Linked DNA regions of Homo sapiens: region 1 is linked to region 2. The links are contacts of gene promoters, found by promoter capture Hi-C in human tissues and cell types (Jung and others, 2019). All regions are on one chromosome and are shown on one strand. Each heading gives the region's core, a stretch centred on a gene start or on the middle of the fragment in contact. The rest is flanking DNA. Distances are from core to core; before and after follow the strand shown.

The links. Contacts are between HindIII fragments. The study calls those that stand out against the background at their distance.
Region 1: a contact is called between a fragment that was not itself captured here and the fragment with the promoter of NGEF in region 2, in 4 of the 25 tissues and cell types used here (adrenal gland, lymphoblastoid cells, pancreas and 1 more).

The regions. Positions count from the first base shown.
Region 1 is chr2:232,787,356-232,790,715 of GRCh38, forward strand. GIGYF2 (GRB10 interacting GYF protein 2) reads left to right here. Exons shown (of 29, transcript NM_001103146.3): 10 at 3,343-3,360. Among named protein-coding and RNA genes, the nearest start is that of KCNJ13, 12 kb to the left of the region's middle. The HindIII fragment of the contact is 4,915 bases long and covers 1-3,360 here.
Region 2 is chr2:233,011,720-233,015,440 of GRCh38, forward strand. It overlaps NGEF (neuronal guanine nucleotide exchange factor), which reads right to left and starts at 1,537. Exons shown (of 15, transcript NM_019850.3): 1 at 1,349-1,537. LOC101928881 (a long non-coding RNA gene) reads left to right here and starts at 895. Exons shown (of 3, transcript NR_136325.1): 1 at 895-1,250; 2 at 1,421-1,528. The HindIII fragment of the contact is 2,443 bases long and covers 890-3,332 here.

The DNA.
Region 1 (3,360 bases), core at 116-2,615, 220 kb before region 2:
ACAGGGACTGAAATAAGGGAAAGTTTGATGGAAATAGGGATTAAATGAAAAAGATAAACTGGCTTAAAAAATGTGGGGGTGGATTCATATTATTTATGCTGTCACAGTTTTATTACTAGAAAAAATTGCAACATAAAAATTTCCTACATCTATTCAGTTGATTGAAATCACTTTTCTATTTTTCTGGGGCAAATAGTGTAGTTTAATGGGAAGCACCTGCGCTCAACTGCAGAAATGAGGGTTTCATTCAGTTTTGTCTACCTCTAAATCTCTGAATCTTTTTTAGCATTCTTTAAGATTTATAAATGTGTAAAAATTACACACTTGAAATATGTGCTTCCCTCCCCAACAATGAGTGTTTTTCCTAACAAGAAAGGGTTTATTCTTTCATTTTTTCCCTTTTGAAAATGTGATTTAACCTTATTTGAAGAATAAGCTTTAAACCTAGGTCAGAAACATAATCACAAGTTCATTCTTATGTCCTTCTAACTTTAGAAGAAGGAGAGACAATAGTAGTGATTAGTGGCTTTTAAAGTTCTTCTGTTTGTCTCTTAAAAATGCTCAAACTGTTCTTCTTGGACATTAGATATGCTAGTAATTGAAGACACTAGTGCTTTGTGTTAAAGTTCATCCTGTACCACAGTGCTGATTCCATGCCTCATGATAATCAGATGCAACTGTAGTTCCAATTGTGGGGTCATGCAAAACTGAAGCACACAGAGTATATGTGGAATGCCCTATGAATTTCATGTGTATGACAGTATTTTATCAACCATGTGCCAGAGGGGCTTACCTTTAATACAGGAAATTATGATAAGTAAACTGTTTTCACTTTTAAAAATCAAGTTATTAGCAAAACCACTAGCTTAGATCTGGGTAGACATTATAACAGGCATTCAGAGTATTTTAAGGAAGTGGTAGGTAGATAGAAACATACTGAAGTTAATGTTTGGGTAGAGTTAGGATGGTTTTATACCAACTCTTCATGGCTGCCTCTTGGGTGGGTTTTCTGTCATTAGTGGGCATTGTTTACATCACAAGGTCTAGACAATTTTCATTAGTCTGTGACCTGGGCCAGATGTTATAGTTCTCTAAAAGGCATCACTGCATTTTATGCTGAGCTTGTCCGTAGGCAGAGGGTTTGTAGACTATGTTCCCAACAAGCATTCAGTGAAGAATGGATAGGATCTGGGCTGAGAGAGAAAAGAAATTCCAGCTGGTCAAAAACAAACAAGGTGAATGTTTTGGAAGATGAACTGTGTTTTTTGAGCCCAAATGTCTGATGTTGATTCTATTAAAGGGAGTTTAACAAAGTACCTCCCACCCAACAACTTAGAATTTGGTTATATATTATCTTCTTCTCATCTTTTCTGAATCTTTCTTTCCCCCTAATATTTGACTTTCATATCATTTTTGTCATCAACTTGTGTATCTTCCAGAACTTTTAATCCATATACATATATATTTTTTCAGTCACACCTGTGGCTGAAATCCATATATTTTTAAAAGACAGTTTGGGGGATATAAAGATCCCCCAAATATAAAGTTTGGGTCTGAAAAAACAGTGTAAATGCATTTTAAAAAAGAATACGATTCACTTTTTAAACCCAGTATATTCAAAGTATAGCCTGATTATAGCAGTTTTCATATGTTAACTCTTAACGTTTGTTAGTTTATGGTTAATCTTTTATTAAGATTTGAGTAAAACTTTAAATTATTTTAACTGATTTTATGAAAATAGTATCCAACTTTAGTTTAGATGTAGGGTCTGTAAATCAGCAGTCAGCCTTAATAAGTACCTTGCATGTCTTACTTGCTATGTTTAGTTTCGTGAGTAAAATTTTATGAACTACTGATAAGATAACATTATGGGATATAAAATAGGGCTTCCGGCTGGATGTGCGTGGGGGTGGGAACATTAAGGACAGGGAGGCATCCAGTCTGGGAGCTGAACCTAGGAAAGTCAGTAAGAGGAGAAACATGAGCCAGGTACCTAGAAGGATAGATTCCTGTCATGATGTACATTTAGACTGTTAGAAATGAAAGCAGTACAGAGGGCTCTGGAATTCATTTGATCATGAAGACTCTTTTCACATAATGGCTCTAGGTTTCCACGTAAGCAGTCTGAGTATAAAATTCCTTAGTTCTCATAGGAAGTAGTAAATAGTGTTTTGTTGTTTTTATATGAAGGGATGGGAGTGTGGGACTAAGATTTCTTTTTTGTGAGTGGCTTATCAGATGCTACCTGTATTTGGCATTTTAACGTTTTGCCCTTTGTTTTCCAATTTGATTTTTAGATTGCTGGTTTTTGCAAAGTTTGTCTCAATAGTGAGAACATTTAACTCTGGCCACATTTCTTTTTCTTATCCCCCACAGAGAAAGCAGTCAAGGATGGAAAATTCTAATAGGTTAAAGCCTGCTTTTCTTTTTAAGACTCTTTTAGACTCAGGTCTGTCAGATTTTAGCAAGAGTTTCCCTTTCTTTTTTTTAGAAAAATATCTTAAGTAGGATCTCTTATTATTAGGCAATCTTTTCTTCTGTTGGGAAATGTAGATTTGGGAATGTCCGTAGGGGTATTATATGGATAGGGAGAATTAAGAGATGAGAAAGAAGGGAGAGGAGTAAGTATGTTATTGTGGAACAAGCAGCAGAGGGTGCAGAATTGGATTTTAGTTCTACTTTGCCATGTGCGAGTTACTTCTGCTGGCAAAGTTTTAGTTTCTTCTTAAACTATAAAATTAGGATAGTGAACTTCATAAAATCTCTGTGACAACTTTCAGCACTGTAATTTTGTGAATTTTTGGGGGAGGATCAGAATTACAAGTGGGAACCTGGCATTAATAAATAGTCATGATGAGTTTGATATAAGTCAACACAGGGAGCTGATTTTATCCACAAACAATGATATTTTCATGGGAAGAAAGAAAATGCTTTAAGATTGGGCAAAAGGAAGGTGTAAACTTCAGTATGGAAGGATGTCTAGTGCATTAAGTCTGGATGAGGAGTTGGCGGCTAATCAGTATTTTAATCAAGTACCTAGGACTTACTGAAAGTGCGTACTTGGAATACAGTGTCCTTTAAATGTACTGCATTTTAGATTTATCTTTTAAAGCTTTAGAGTATGTTGCCTGGCTCAGTACTTAAGTACTGTTGTCATCTCGTAATGGTACATATACTCTGAACTCTGAACTTCATTTAGTTGCCTAATGTTCTCTTTACTAGGTCAGTCCATTTGAGTTTGCGGTCACTTGTAGTTTTCTCCTTTATTTTCTATTCCTGATTTTCTTATTCAAATACTGTCATAAAACTTTTCTAAGGTTTGTGTCCTCCTTCTCATCTCAGATGGCCCTCGTTCTGCAG
Region 2 (3,721 bases), core at 287-2,786:
TGAGACTACAGGCATGCATCAGCTCTTCTTAAAGCAATTCATCTTCCCCCATGTCTAGCCTCATCTGTGTCCCCAGCCCCACTGGGGCAGAAAGCTGTGGAATGTTACTCACACTGTCATTGGATCAACCCCTGGCTTTCCTGTGGGGATCCCCTCCCTGGGAGGGGTTCCCATGACAATTTGGGCTCCAGAAAGGGATGTGGGAGGAGAGTGCGGTGGAGGGAGGTGGTCTGTGGTCTCCCTTCATGGACCAGAAAGCTTGACCCCCAAGGGGACCCTGGCTTCTACTTCCTCAGAGCTAAGCAGTGCCAAGGGGCAGCCTGAGACATGGGCAAAGGGGAAGCCTAAATGGAAAAAGAGAGAGAGAGAGAGAGAAAGAGAGAAGGGGCAGGGAGGACAAAGACACATGGCAAGTGTCCAAGCTGGAACATTCCCACCAGTGGCCTTATTGCATTAAGGATTTTCCCAAAAAGCAGAAATACACTGATAGTCAATGGAACATAGCAGAGCTGTCACGAGCCCAGGAAACACAAGTCCCACCTCTACACAGCCAGAGACTGTGTGACTGTCCCAAATTTTAAATCAAGATAGACAATAAGAACCTACCACTTTCACATCCAAGAAAACTGTGTCCCTACACATTTCAGTCACACCGTGCTGTGGCTTGAGGCCAGCCAGATGCAAAAATCAGGAAGGTTCTGAGGGGTAGGGCCTTCTGTCTTTCTGAAAGGGGCCCCTGAGCGGAGGGGGCAGTGCTGGGGGAGCTAAAGCGCAGTGGGCTGTCACTTCACGACTATGACTTCTGTTTCCCAAGTGCACTTCCTGACCCTGAGATTTGTGCCATGGCACACAGGAATCAGGGCACTTCCGTTTACATATACGCTCATTATCAGGACTGGCGTCGTGGGTGTGGGGCCTGGGCAGTCACAGGGCCCTGTTCTTAGAAGGTGCCCCGGCTTGCTTTAATGCTGTGTTGTTGTCCTTTTGAAAGCCTTACTATTTTAACAAGGGGCCCTGCATTTTTATATTGCACAGGGCCCTGCAATTATGCAGCCATTCCTGCTTTTGATCTCACTTACCCCACAGCCATAATGGAAGAGCGCCTGGAAGGAGTCCTTATCCTGATTCCCAGATGGTGAAACTGAGTGCCAGGAGGGGCAGTGCTGAAGCCGAGACCAGACAGGATCCCTCGGGTGGAATCCAGGGCTGCTGTTTCTCTTGGGGGCTCCTCCTCAGTGAATGGATGGGTGGTAATCTCCTTTCCTACCTGTCCTAGCGGTAGCCTCTGTTCCTTCTCTTGTTTTATCTCATTTTATTTTTTTAAAAAATACCAAAACCATTCTCTCACCTGCCAGAGAGGAGCTCATAGGAGTTGGGCTTCCTCAGAGAGTGTTCCTCCCTCGTCCCCTGTCCTGTCCAGGCACCTGCGAGCAGGATGGTGTGTCCCCGGCTAAATCCACAGGCGCTCCACTCTGTCCCAGAGAGCCCACAGCCAAAAACTTCGTCCTGTCCTGGAAAAGCTTCACTGGTAAGCATTCCCGACCTTTAGACCTGCCTTGGCCCATAGCTGGCCACGAGCCCATAACGATCACTTCCCGGCTGGGTGTTTACCTTCCTGGGCCCCATGGGTTGAGCCAGGGTGGCAGCCACATACCTGACACAAAAGTGGTGCAGGAGGGAAGGGCTATCTGAGGGGAAGGCTGGGCATGGCTGGAATACCCGCCGCCCGCCCAGTGCAAGATAATGCTGATGGTCACACCAAGAGGGGCCCGTGGCTCAGCTGGCCCACCAACCCCAAGCATTGGCCAAGCCAGCTGCACGGCCCTCAAATCTGAGATTTGGGAGAGGCTTTGGGGTCCTCCAGGGTTCTAGTCACTTCCTGCCATGGCCATCTGGCCTTAACTCAATCACTTCCAGGCATGGAACACTCACTGCTTTGTAAGGCATCTTGCTCCATTATTATTATTATTATTATTATTATTATTATTATTATTATTCCCTCTAATAGCTTCCTTTAATCCAGTGCTTACTACATGACAGGCACTGGGCTAAGTACATTACATAATCTATGTAATCCTTGTGTTGTCACTATGACCAGAGAATCATGCCCATTTTAAAGATGCAGAAACAGAGGCTCAAGAAATTGATCATCTTGCTCAAAGCCCCACAGCTAGTAAGTTGGGGATCCAGGATTCAAACCCAAGCCAACTAGTATCAAAACCACTACCATCATTTGCCAAGTTTAATTGCTACATCATCCATCTTTATATAAAACTCAAATCAGCGTTTGTTTTAGCTATCTGTTCTGGAAACAAATTAACTCAAAGTGTGTGGCTTGAAATAACACTCATTTGTCATCTCAGTTTCTGTGGCTAGAAGTCTGGGCACTGCTTGGCTGGGTTCTCTGCTCAGGGTTTCTCATAAGTTGCCATCCAAGTGTTGGAGGGGCTGAGGTCTCATCTCATGGCTCCACTAGGGGGGATCCACTTCCAAGCTGCTGGTGTTGGCAGGATTCAGTTTCTTAGGGCTGTAGGATGAAGGCCTCAGCCCCTCTCAGCTGTCAGCTGTGGCCACTATCAGTCCTTTGCCATGTGGGCCTCTCCGCCCTGGCAGCTCGTTGCATCAGAGAGGGCTATGGAGAGAGTCTGGGAAGAGGTAGGTCAGTCTTTTGTAATATACTCAAGGATGTGATATTCCATCACTTCTGGCATATTCTACTCGTTAGAAGGAAGTCATCAGGCACAGCCTACACTCAAAGGTAGGGGATTACACAGGGCACAATACCAGGGGTGGGGGTCCCTGAGGGCCATCTTTGAAAGTTCCCACAGCCATCTGATTGCCACAAAACATGGGTTTCAGTTTTGTCCCTGAAAGCCAGATTGAAGTAGTCTCTCATCTATTCTCTCACCCATCCATCCACCCATCCACCCATCCATCCACCCATCCACCCATCCATCCGTCCATCCATCCATCCACCATCCATCCACCCATCCATCCATCATCCACCCATCCACCCATCCATCCACCCATCCATCCATCCATTATCCACCCATCCACCCATCCATCCACCCATCCACACTTCCATCCACCCACCCATCCATCCACCCACCCTTCCATCCATCCATCCACCCACCATCTATCCATCCAACCATCCATCCATCCATCCATCCATCCATCCATCCATCCATCCATCCACCCAACCATCTACTCATCCATTCATCCACCCACTCATCCACCCATTCATCTACCCAACCATCTACTCATCCATTCATCCACCCACTCATCCACCCATTCATCTACCCATCCATCTACTCAACTACCCATCCACCCACCCATTCATCCATCCACCCATCCATCTATCCACCCATCCACCCATCCATCTATCCACCCATCCACCCATCCATCTATCCACCCATCCATCCACCATCCATCCATCCACCATCCATCCCTTCACCCATCCATCCATCCACCCACCATCTATCCATCCATCCACCCACCCATCCACCCACCAATCCACCCACCCACCTACTCATCCATTCATCCACCCACTCATCCACACATCCACCCACTTATCCACACATCCATCTACCCATCCATCTACTCATCCACCCATCCACCCACCCATTCATCCATCCACCCATCCACCCATCCAGTCATCCACCCATCCATCCACCCATCCACCCATCCATCTATCCATCCACCATCCATCCATCCACTCATC